Linked DNA regions of Homo sapiens: region 2 is linked to region 1. Evidence: promoter capture Hi-C in 16 types of primary human blood cells and fetal thymus (Javierre and others, 2016). All regions are on one chromosome and are shown on one strand. Each heading gives the region's core, a stretch centred on a gene start or on the middle of the fragment in contact. The rest is flanking DNA. Distances are from core to core; before and after follow the strand shown. Region 1 holds the start of MC2R (melanocortin 2 receptor). Region 2 has its middle 77 kb from the start of ZNF519.

Region 1 (6,434 bases), core at 2,008-4,507:
GAGAAGGGTGGCTGCCAGGGCCTGGGGTGGGGTCCTGGGGCAATGCTGGTCAAAGGCCATGAAGTTTCAGGGTTACAGGAGGAGTAAGTTCTGCAGGCCCGAGGTACAGCATGGTGACTGTAGCTAATCATGTGTTGTATGCTTGAAATGTGCAAAGAGAAGGGCAGGGGATGGTGGCTCACGCCTGTAATCCCAGCACTTTGGGAGGCCGAGGTGGGTGGATTGCCTAAGCTCAGGAGTTCGAGATCAGCCTGGGAAACACAGTGAAACCCCATCTCTACTAAAACATAAAAACTTAGCCGGGCATGGCGGCGTGCGCCTGTAGTCCCAGCTACTTGAGAGGCTGAGGCAGGAGAATTGCTTATACCTGGGAGGCAGAGGTTGCAGTGAGCCAAGATGGTGCCACTGCACTCCAGCCTGGGCAACAGAGGGAGAGCCCATCTCAAACACAAAACAAAACAAAACAAAAGAAAAAGAAAAAGAAAAGGAAATGTGCAAAGAGAGCAGATCTGAAGTGTTCTCACCACACACACAGAAAGGCAACTGCAGGCCGATGGGTATGTTCAGTAGATTGGCTGCAGTCAGCAGTCCACTGTGAGTATACACACAAAACATCATATACACCTTAAATATATACAATATTTATTTAAAATTTAAATGTAAATGTTTCATAAGAGCTTGTCCATGCTTGCTGTCTCCTCTCCTCACTTCCCATTTCCTCCTCAAGCAGCTCCCACCAGGCACCCACCTCTACCACTGTCCCGTCTCCCCTCTGGCCCCTACAACCCGTGGAGAGGATCCTTTAAAGCCTGAATCAGGTCATGTCATCCTAGTCCTGACTCCTCATCGTTCTTACAGGAAAGTCTTAAGTGCTATCATGGCCTCTGTAGAGCCACTGAACTTCTCAGATCCCCATCTATAAATGGGGTCTGTAAGGTGACTTCACACATGTGCTGAGAAGATTAAATGTCGAGATATGTACAGCACTGAGAACATTCATCATGGCTGGCACATAGGAAACCCACTGTGGATTCTTACCATTGCTTCCACTGCAGATTTCAGCAAAGACATTTGTGAGTTACCTTCCAACCCCAGCATTTTCTATGTCAGAATGGGGCAGTCCTGCAAACACAAAAGACAGATCCCCGGCCCTGTCTCTTCTTCCTGTCCCCTTCTGTTTCCCCATTGCATCTCCTTTCCCCTTGCTCTGCCTCCCAAGCCTCCCCCACCCTCTCACTCTTTCTCTCTCTCTGCCTCTTTAGCTTTTCCATGAGAGGGACAAGCACTGGGGAGGAAGTTGTATTTGTGAAAGTGACCGAGTTGTATACGATTGTGTGAGAAGAGAAGAAAGGGTGCATACAGAAGCCCTTTGAATGCTCCCTAAAATTCCCCTTTTCCATCGTATCTCTTGGGATGAGAGAGAGACTGGGCTGGTGACGGAATGGTGGCGCAGTTGTAACATGGTCATCAGAGTTCATCTACCAGCATCTCCACTTACAAGTTTGCTTTCCAATGATCACCAGCTGAATGGGTTTCCCTACAGCAAAGATATTTCTTTTAAAATACCACTATTTCAAGAGTGTTTGGACAGGGTTATAACAAAAACCATAGGTATTGGCATATGGTTTTAGATTTCCCTGAGCACTGTTACAAACCTAGTCTGAATTCTCACAACAGCCCGCTTTACACCAGGCAATGGAGTCCTAGAGGCCTGGCACTCAGAACTCTGACCGCGTGTCTTCTGGTTCTAAACTCTGTCATTTCTACTCTGCTCCTTCCAAGAGATTTTTGCCCCCTTTTCTCTAAAAATTGGAGAGAGATGAGCCCCCAAAATGGAAGAACTAAAATAGCAATAGCTACTCTCTTTGCAGGGCTTAGCCAAACCCCTAGGCAACCTTCCCCCTGCTGGAAGTCTCTCCCTGTCCCTCCCAATCAGAGTGGCCCAGGTCCCACCCAGGGGACTGGCCGAGGCTCGCCTCCTCCAGACAGTGTTCCCATTGTCTGCAGCCTGCCTGATGTCCCACTCCCCAGGGCTGGCCACCGGTTTTCCCAATCAGCTAATCAGATCCACAGATCTCTGACAAAGGGCCTCTGCTTCTGCAAGTACAAGGGCTAAGGACGAGTTGTCTCTACTTTTCCAGATAATACAGTAGCTTTCTGGAGGCAATGCCTTGCTTTTCTCTGTTATCTCAACTACATGACTGAAGAGGGAAAGAGGCCTGTGGAACGCCGGGTTTCAGCTGCAGGGCATGTTGCGGAGGCACACACCTACTCAGAAACAGTCGAAGTCTGGGATGATCCTGGGTCCATGAGTTCCTGGGGACAACACGCTTTGCCTCAGTGACAGGCCAGGAAAAGCCACTTTATAAAATTGTGTTTACCCGCCTGGCAAATTCAACTCAGGTCTCTCTCTTTGGTCTTTTCCAGACCACCCACGTGTGAACACTTTTTAGCTTGGGGCGGAAGCTCACATTTCAGAAACAGCCACTGGTTTGGCCCCAGCCCCAAAAACCCAGGACCATCTGGAAACTTGGCCCAATTCCACACTTCAACATTCCTGTTGCTGTGACTGACACCAACAGTAGCCCTTCCCTGCAGGCCCCGGCAGGCAGAAAACACACAGCATTGCACCCTAAAATGGAAGAATTTTGCTTTGAATGATGGCTCTTATCTATGGCGGTTTCTGTGAAGTTTTTGGACGGAGAAGCATTGGCAGAACACAGGGTTTTTTTCTTGTCTGGACCCATGCGTCATATGTGCACTTGAGCACACAGTTCCCTCACTCTCATTGTTTAGTCTTGTGAAATAGGGATAATGGGGCTATTCCCTTCTTCTTAATGAAACTAATGAGCCAAATATTTGCAAGATATATCAAGAAGTTTGCTAGAAGTTTTAAAACAAATTCTTCCAAAACCATTTTCTCAAAAACCTGATTTATTTAATTCCTTAGTTCTTTTTGGAAATAAATGCAACTCTAAAGTGGCATTTAAAAAGAGCAAGATGACAATTCCATAATCTGCTAGAAACATTGTCATAAACATTGGAAGTAACCTTGACTAGCTGAGCTCATGGAAATTATGTCTTCATCTGCCTGTGTCTTTCCATTTCTCTAACTTCACATTACCAGAAATGCACAGTTCATGTGGGATGACATTTATTCAAGGTAATGATAACAATCTAGCTGTATCTCCGGTGATGCATGTGTTCCGGCCCTTCCCGGCCCAAGGTCCACTTGCTTGCTTTTCTCTCCGAGCTCATTCCTTCTCATTCATTTTGCCCAGAAAGTTCCTGCTTCAGAGCTGAAGGTAAGTACATTTTCCACTAATTCCTCAGCTTGCTAAGTGCTTTTGGACCATGAATAGAGCAGCTAGGAACAAATCTGAGAAGAGGTACTATTCAGAATTCCTCCAAATAGCTCATCTTTTTAATTATGGGCTTTCATCCTTCCTAAGGGAGTTTATTATTTTTCTAATTAAACTACTACAATGAAGGCTATTACCTTTTTGTCTAGCTAAAACAATCTTCCCTATTAATGAATTTATTGGCTTCTCTAGTACTCTTCAAATTGTCATTGAGCTCTATTCAAGGACTACAGCCAGTTTTTTCCTAATAGAATTAGGGGTGAAACAAATCATGCTTCTATTATCACTTCTGGAGTTAGCCCCTTCACCTGATCAGCTTGTCTAGGTGTAAGAGTGCGGGGGTTTTAGCGCCACAAAGACGTGGGCATGCGGCAGCTTCCTGAACCTCAGGCATTGGTGTCTAAGCAACTCCACCATCCACACGTGTGACGTTACAGTTCTGGGAGATGCACGCACACTTTCTGTGCCTTTCTCAACCACTAGCTCAGTCAGCCTCCACCTTCCTAGGCAGCAACACGGGGTGCAGGATAAACAATAACTAAAAGCATACTGATTATCACATACTCCTGCAAAGTGTTTGCACCCAGAAAGCATGCAGTCACTGCCATCATGAGGGGCTCACACCTTCCTTTGGCTGGCTCTGTCGGGGGGCACATGTTACCTAGAAAAGAGGCCCAGGCATTCGATTAAACAGCTCTTCTTCATATTTCAGTTTGTCTAAGCTGCCTTCAGATAACTGTCCCCATTCTTCACTTACACACACACACTCATACACACACATATACACACATACACGTGCACACTTGTAAACATACATACATACATGCATGCAAAAAGTCCAAAAGGGATAGGAATGGGAAAGGGGTACAAAGGGGTCCAGAGAGTACAGCCTTGAGCAGATCAGAAGGAGGAGTGCTCCTCACATGCCCTCCCCACCCCATCCCCGGAGTGGGAGTGAAGCGGTGGTCACAGGCTCTGCTCACACATTCATGCCTAGATCAAGCTGTACCGAACCCTTATGTGCTGGGCCTTGTTGCAAGCCTAAGTCAGAGTGGAGCCTCCTGGAGCCCCGGCGCTGAGGACAGCGCACACTGAGACAACACTTCACACTAGCTCCCAGACAGGACACACACCCACAAAGAGCTGTGGGAGCAGGGAGACGGGAGCCCTCACCCTGCCTTTGGGACACCGCTTAGGCCGCGGCAGGGGTGGAGGAGGGCATGAACCAGGGTAATGGGGTAGATAAGCTCCAAAGCCATCCTGACTTCTCAGTGGATCCTGAATCTCTGGCAGAGGAGGTTTTTGCTCAGCAGCAAATTGCCCTCTCACTGCCTCAGAGCAACTTAAGACATCTTAAAAAAAAAAAAAAATCCTATTCTTTACCTTGTTAATGATCCCAGGTATGTTTCCTATGGAATCCTTAGTGTCTAATACATTTTAATGAGAGCTTTCTTGTCTGTGTAAGCCACATTCCTTGCCTTCATTAGGCAAATATAATTGCTGTGGGCCAGGTTGTCTGCAGGGCTCAGCCTCAGACATGGTCAGGGCAGGTCTTATCCTAAGGAACTCAGATCCATCTGCAGGGTTTTCATGTGAATAATGCCGTTGTAGAAATAAGAACAAACAGCTACAGGTGCATAGACGGGCAGCAATCCTGGGCTCCCTTGGGATGCGGGGGCAGTGGAAGAGAGTCTGTACTTGGGCAAGGACACAGTGCTGAGTGTGAGAAGTGAGGAAGGACGTGTCCAGGCCCAGGGAGAGAGAACGTGTGAACAGACAGGCAAGCGCTGGTGCAGACCCACCCAGTGGGCCTTAAAGTGTGGTGGAGTCCTAAAGTCTTAACTTCTCTGTTCTCTGACTATGAGCCGCCAGGGTACAAAATTTGGAAGATGGTTTTAAAGTAAGTTCTCAACTCAAAATATGCGTGTGCCAAGCGCTGTGCTAGCAGCATGGGTAACGCACAGAGCCTGACTTGGTGGGAGAACAACATGTGCAAACTACAGAGACTAATCAACCTAGTAGGTGTCCCAGCATCAAAACCTGGGGGCAGCAAGCGTTTGTGTGAGCAGCACAGCCGTGGCAGGGAAAGGTCCGAGTGGGTCACACTGGCAGGAAGGCACCGTGGAGGAAGCCTGCCATGAGCAGTGAAGCTCAGAGGACGGGAGATGTGAGCGGGTGGAAGGTGGTGGTCCAGGTGAGGCTGTGCAGGGAGCTGAGCATCACACTGATTTCCAACCAGAACACTCCAGCCTGGGCTTCATGCCTCCCTAGCTGTGAGCTCCTGCAAAAGCTTCCATTCTCGGGACTTTCCTTCGCTCGTCCTAAGATGTGATCACATTGTCATTCATGCCTAATTTCCAGTCTTGTGTATATTAAAAAAGAAATTATACTGTAAGCAGCAGTTCTCTGTGAAGTGTCGGAAAAGCTGTAAACCTGCCCAGCGGCCTGCAAGATGATCACACCGAGAGATGCTTCTGCCTGTGCCCGGCATGGGGAAAAAGAATAAAGCCACCCCCAAAATAAGGCTCCCTTGAAGGCCTCTCATAATTGAGCCTATGCGGAATTCAAAACAAGATGTGCGCTGGATTCAGATGAGCCATTGCCTACCATAGCGAGCTCTGCTGGCTGCAGCCAGTCTTCACAGTGATAAGCGTAACTTATAACTCTGTAAGATCAACATCAGTAAGTTCAAGGAAAACTGACTTCAGCTGGAGACAGTGACTGGGCCCTAGCAAAGCAGTTGGGATGGTCCGGGAGCAGAAAACAACGTAGAAATTCATCTGTCCTTGAATTTTTCCTATTTCAACAGAGTATTGATTAATTGATTAATAATAATCTACAAGTTTTATTATGGTGCTATGTTGTTATTTTGTTTTATTTAGCACCAAAACAGCCTCAGAGTCCTGAGCCCCTCAGTTCCCAGCTCCTCCCACAGCTCTTGGCCCAACCTGACCCGGTCCTCCTACCCATACCTGTTTCAGAGCTAGGCTTGTCCTGCTTCCAAACACTCAGCCTCTCAGGCTCTTTGGAATAACCAAGCGAGCACAGACCTTGGAATGAGGCAGATTCGCA
Region 2 (6,434 bases), core at 1,692-4,191, 140 kb before region 1:
TTAAAGATTTAAATGTAAGATCTCAAACTATAAGAATCCTAGAAGAAAACCTAGGAAACACCCATTCTGGAAATTGGCCTTGGGAAAAATTTTATGACTAAGTCCCCAAAAGCAATTGCAACAAAAATAAAAATTGACAACTGGGGCCCAGTTAAACTAAAGAGCTCCTGCACAGCAAAAGAAACTATCAACAGAGCAATCAGACAACCTGAAGAATGGGAGAAAATATTCACTAACTATGCATCTGACAAAGGCCTAATACCCAGAATCTATAAGGAACCTAAACAAACGAGCAAGCAGAAAACAAATAACCCATTGCCATTAAAAAAATGGGTAAAAGACATGACAGACACTTTTCAAAAGAAGACATACAAGCAGCCAACAAACGTGAAAAAATGCTCCACATCACTAATCAGAGAAATGCAAATCAAGACCACAATGAAAGCCATCTCAAACCAGTCAGAATGGCTACTATCAAAAAGTCAAAAAAAAAAAAAAAAAAAGATCCTGGTAAGGCAGTGGAGAAAAGGGAATGTTTATACATTGTTGGTGGGAGTGTAAATTAGTTCATCTACTGTGAAAATCAGTTTGGAGATTTCTAAAAGAATCTGTAACAGAAGTATATTTTCACCGAACAATCCCATTACTGGGCTTGTATCCCAAAGAAAACAAATTGTTCTACCAAAAAGACACATGCACTTGCATGTTCATTGCAGCAGTATTCACAACAACAAAGAATAGAATCAACCTCAGTGCTCATCAGTGGTGGACTGGATAAAGAAAATGTGATACATAAGCACCATGCAATACTACACACCACAGAAGAGAACAAAATCATGTCCTCTGCAGCAGCACGGATGCAGCTGGTGGCCATTATCCTAAGTGAGTTAATGCAAGAACAGAAAACCAAATGCCACATTTTCTCATTTATAAGTGAGAGCTAAACATTGGGTACTCATGGAAATAAAGAAGGCAGCAGTAGAAACCAATGACAACTAGAGGTGGGAGGGAGGCAGCAAGGGTTGAAAAACTAACTATTGGGTACTGTGCTCAGTACCTGGATGATGAGATCATTCTTAAAAATATTTGTTATTATATTTGAATATAAATATTAATTAATTTAACTTTCTAAGCATACCCTTCCACTTTATCCCAAAATATATTTATTAACTTTTAAAATATGAATATATACTGAGGTCAAAAAATGATGCTCTAACTTGTGATTTATAACGGTTGGGAATATAATTTAAAAAATTGATAAAGTCTTGATTGAAAACTGCTTGTATTTTTAAAGTGTAACTATTTAGAGAATAAAATAGGAATTGTTCAATTATTAATTTATGAATATTTACAGAGCATTATACTGAGAAATGTAGTTGGATGATGCTTCAATTTGAATAAAAGATTAGGCTCTCAAGTACAGCATTTCTTTCACTGCTAATGAGAAAGAATCCAAACTCTCTGTGAAAGGAAAGAAAGTCACACATTTCTTGACATGTTGCAGGATCTCCTATATTCTTTATATTTGAAGGAGTTTACCGTGAAGAAGCTGACTGCTATGAACAGCATGTGAAGGTGGAGGAATTCCAGCCCAGTGAGGAGCTCCCCTGAACCAACTGGCCTCAGTGACCCTCAGAAGGAGTCAAGGTGGGTATACGCAGCCTGGCAGCCCATGAGGCCCAAGGGGAGGGGAGGGAGCAGCACGGATTTAAGACCCACGTCCACTCCTGAGAAGAGAGCAGCAGGATTTGGTGCTTCTCCTCCAAGCAGGTTTAGAAAAGCCCCTTGTGATGGGCTCTGCCCAGTAACCATGGGTCCAGCTGCCACAAACCCCAAGGGACACCCCAACATTCTGCCTGGAACCCTCCTAGTAGCTGGCATTCTGGATTGGTCAATTTTATGGTCACAGACAGGGGAAATTTGTGAATGAAATATACTTATCTCATGACCTCTTCTACAGACTCCACCATTTTTGGCATCTCCTCCTTTGCCTCTTATTGCTTGGAGAGTTTGGATCTCTCTTTCAATTCTCGAAACAGAGAATTGAATTCCTCCATCAGCATCAAGTTGGTGCTCCTCATTTTTTTTTTAAGTATCCTAAGTCTGGGTATATTTAAAGACTCTATCTACCCTGACATTCTCTAAAGATAATTCAATCTCTGCAAACTCCTTACTGGTAGCACTAAGCTTGTTAGTGAGTTGGCATTTCTTTTCAATCTGTGAATTTAGTGTTTCCACAGTTGTTTCCACGCTTTACACAAAGTTGACCCCTAACAGACTGAACAAGCCTCAATAAAACCATGAGACCCACCAATAACCCGATGAGAGGCAAACACACCAGTGTCTCCACCTGGAGTTTGTGGACAGTGAGTTGTGGACTGAGATCATGTGGCAGGAGCTCCACCACCACCTTGCCCAGCTTCTGAAGGGTCAGTCCAGGGCCCAGGTCCACAGAGGATCTCAGACTCTCCATGGCACTGCAGCCACCACAGAGCTCTGCCCAGTAACCGTGGGTCCAGCTGCCACAACAAACCCCAAGGTACACCCCAACATTCTGCCTCGAACCCTACTAGTAGCTAGCATTCTGGATTGGTCAATTTTATGGTCACTGGCAGGGGAAATTTGTGAATGAAATATACTTATCTCCATTACAATTTGATGATCATTCTCCTTTCCATCTTATTGTTTTATCTTAACACAAAATTAAACTATAGTGAAATGTGCAGATGTTATCTGTCAATGACTTTACAGATTTTTATAACTTTATATTCCTTACAGTATCCAACAGCCCTATTAATATATGGATCATATCAGCACAGAAAATCCCCTCTGACATTTCAGACAGGCCCACCCACTCTACCATACACAGCCCTGTTTTGATTTTTATTTTATACATCATTTTTGACAGTTCTTCAACTTCATAAAAATTACAAAAATCACATTGTACACCTTCATGTGCGCCTCTTTTACTTGAAAGTGACTATTCCACAGATTTTCAATCAGTGGGTGTTTGTACATGCTAGGCGGGCTGTGGAAGGAAGTCAAATGGTCTACAAATGAGTTATTTTGATAGTCTCAGGTTACACATCCAGGTCTTACAGTCCTCCAGCTCAGAAGATTGTTTTCTTTACAATGTAATGGAGAAACATTCTTCTTAGTATGTTTATTTTTTATTTGGTGACTTACAAAAATTGATTTTCTGTAAAACAAGAGAGGCTTAAATGACATTAGGTCCCCTACTCCATTCTCTTTATAAACTGATTTTCATTTACTTGCTGTATCAGTTCTCAAGATAGATATTATTATACTATCTAGTCATTTTAGACTAAAACTTTACTAATTTATATTCAAACTCCTGTATATTAGGGATGGGATAGATTTTAACTATAAATTTTTATTCAGCATGTTTAATTTTTTCTTTTACATTCTTAAAATACTGATACTTATTTGAAAAGTGCCTTCTAGTAGTATAGGTAATTAAAAATACATGTAAATACATAAATTAGTTTTAAATTTTTCAGTAAAACCTTGTTTTTTTAATGGAAAGAAAATATGTCTTAGAAATAAAGTTTAATCTTACATTCCTACAAAATATATAACAGTGTTTTCCAAAGTTCTCCTTGACAGAGAAAGAGAGAGAGAGAAAGCAACCAAAGAGTAAATTGGAATTCATCAAAATTAGAAAACTAAGCTTTGTGGAAGTCCCCTTTAAAGGGATAAAGTAACATACTACAGACGTAAGGAAGTATTGGCCAGCTGCATATCTGACAAAGGGTAGTATCCAGAACATGTGAAAAACACTCCGAATGCCACAGTGGGGAAAAACTCAATTACATTAGGTAACAGATGTGAAGTGACATTTCCCTGAGGAGGAGATGGAGATGGCAAGTATCCACATGAAAATATGTTAGCTATTTCTCGGAGATGCAAATTGAAATCATACTGCAATATTATGGCAAATTTACCAGAATGCTTTAAGCAAAATACGGAAAATGTACCAAATACTGGTGAGCATGTGGAGAAACTGGATCACTCATATTGCTGGTGGTAATTTATTTAAAATGATATAGCCACTATGGGAAAAAAGTGTGGCAGCTTTTTTTTTTTAATATGGCAGTGAATTTCCTGTAATCAAAAACAACCATGACAAATTCATTAAATATCAAAAGCTACATTTTACTAAAAACAATCTGTCTTTTTAAATGTTGAATCATACACTGTATATAATACATGCTTCTTTCCCTCTTGGACTTCACTATCCATTTGAGTCCTTCAGCTAGCGTCAAGCACTTAGCCTCTGCTGTCTCTGACTTGGAGTAATCCCAGGCTTTGAAATCTCAAAGGTATTCACAATCTCCTCCCAGTCAGGGTACCTCACAGCTAGAATTCCTCGATTCCTAACTTGGGTGTTTTGGTGAATTTCCTCACTTTCTTCATTAATATTAACAGGCTCTATTATTTGCAGTCGGTCTTGGTCAGGTTTTACTCTTGCAAAACCATCCTGTATAATGAAGGAAACATGAAAGATGTTTTCCACTGTTTGGGGGAAAGATTGTGGATCAACCACAAAGGCAAAGAAGGACGCTGGGTAGCATCTCGAATATACAACTGCAACAATCCCAAGATTCTTTCTACTTCTTTCTTTGTTGTTTCTTGATGAGATTCTTCCCTTCTTTTTAACTGGGCAGGCATTATCGTCTCCTTTTGTATCATAGGAAGTTTTCTTGGACTAATGATTTGGGACTTTGGCACAAGGAACTCTCCTTGTGTTGAATCCAACAGAGAGTGGAGTGTATGGGCTTGATTAAAGGTGTTTTCTGCTCTTTTGCCTGATATTTTCCAGGAGTCATAGACTATGAATTCAAATCAGAGCTATCTTCATCACGGATGAGTTCTTCAGCTTCTGGCAGATTTACACCCATACATGTCAGTAAAGTTTCAACACAACATGTCCAACAAGTTCAGATCTGAGCACAGCTGCTTTGCTTTCCCTTTGCCCAGATCCGAAGCCAAAACAAGAATCTGGGCATCTAGGACTGCTTGTCTTGCTCGGGACACTCTCTTAGACAGAGTGAGAGCCTCTTCAGCACCTCAGTGCTCACAACCTCCATGCAGCAGGTGTCCTGATGGGTTGATTGGACTCAATGCTGATGCCCCTGCCTCACTGTGAGCCTCTGCTCACACTCAGCTCTGCCTCCAGCGTTGTCCACATGCCTCAGCCCATTGTGGTCACACACACAGTTCACCAGGGAGTTACTTCTCCACCAAGGCCATGGGATTGATGAAAAAGTCTTTCACATTCCTTCTCGGCTAAACCATTACTAGTGGAGAATGAAATAAATTAGTTTAAATGTTGGGAAAGAGATTATTTGCTGATTCATTCCTGGCCTGCCACACATCTAACAGAGTGTGAACACACGTAACTGGCATGCCACCAACGTTCTGGCCCATAGTACAGCAGTCAGATACCAAAGTGAGGAAGAAATTATGGTCCTGTGTTGGGGGTGAACCCAGTAAATCCCTGTAGTTAAGAAACTACATGTTCAACTCAGAGAAGACAAACTTACAGAAAATATTTGACAAGCTCTCGGAATCTGTACCAAGGTTGATGGGTGAAGATTTTTTCCTGCTAAAGCAATCTGTAAATGCTGGGAGATGGGACTGCTTCTTCGAATATACAGATACCACCACAAACTACAACAAACATCAAGAATCAGGGGAAGATGACCCAATCAAAAAGAATGAAGTGAATCTTTAGTAACTGATTCTTTAAAAATGGAGTTAATGAATTACCTTACCAAAAGCAATTTTTAAAAATCTTAAAGAAGCTCGGTGAGTTACAAAGAACATAGATAAACAGCTAAAAATTTCAGAGAAATGATATTTTTTTTAAAAAAAATTATAAAATAGAAATAAACTAAAATTATAGAGCTAAAATATAATAACTGAAATAAAAAAATTCAAGAGAGGGGTTAAACAGCAGACATGATCAAGCAGATCCTCAAGCTTTTATTCTGGCTTTAAGCTAATAAATTTTCTGAACTGGAGAAGAAATTATTTAGCTTTTTGGAAGTTTTCTCATTTAATATTAATAAGTTTTTTTAAAATACACTCTTGTTTTCTAAAAAATAATTTATAATCAACTTATAGCTTCTTTTAAGTGAAAAGTTACCCTTTTGCTGTAATGGTGTTAACTTTCAGGCATACTCCAAAATGCAGCTTGACGCATTCAAGTGGAGCTCACATAGGAAAGCAGAACAGAGATGCTCAACTGAAGCCTGTGCAAACAGCAAAACCAAAACATTCTATAAATGCACAAAGATGAACATGGCATGTCAGAGACATTTAGGGAGCTTTGGGCTCCTTCATATAGAAATGGTTAGTCTGAAAAGAGCTAAGGAGAAACCAGTCTTAGAAATCACTATGTTAAAAAC

Evidence for each region. Contacts are between HindIII fragments. The CHiCAGO score rates a contact against its expected background, and 5 or more counts as called.
Region 2: a fragment that was not itself captured here is called in contact with the fragment with the promoter of MC2R in region 1 in 1 of 17 cell types (M2 macrophages); the score reaches 5.5 in M2 macrophages.

Annotation. Positions count from the first base shown.
Region 1 is chr18:13,912,359-13,918,792 of GRCh38, reverse strand. MC2R (melanocortin 2 receptor) reads left to right here and starts at 3,257. Exons shown (of 2, transcript NM_000529.2): 1 at 3,257-3,305. The HindIII fragment of the contact is 17,945 bases long and covers 1-5,654 here.
Region 2 is chr18:14,052,613-14,059,046 of GRCh38, reverse strand. It overlaps the pseudogene LOC100128776. Among named protein-coding and RNA genes, the nearest start is that of ZNF519, 77 kb to the left of the region's middle. The HindIII fragment of the contact is 1,504 bases long and covers 2,190-3,693 here.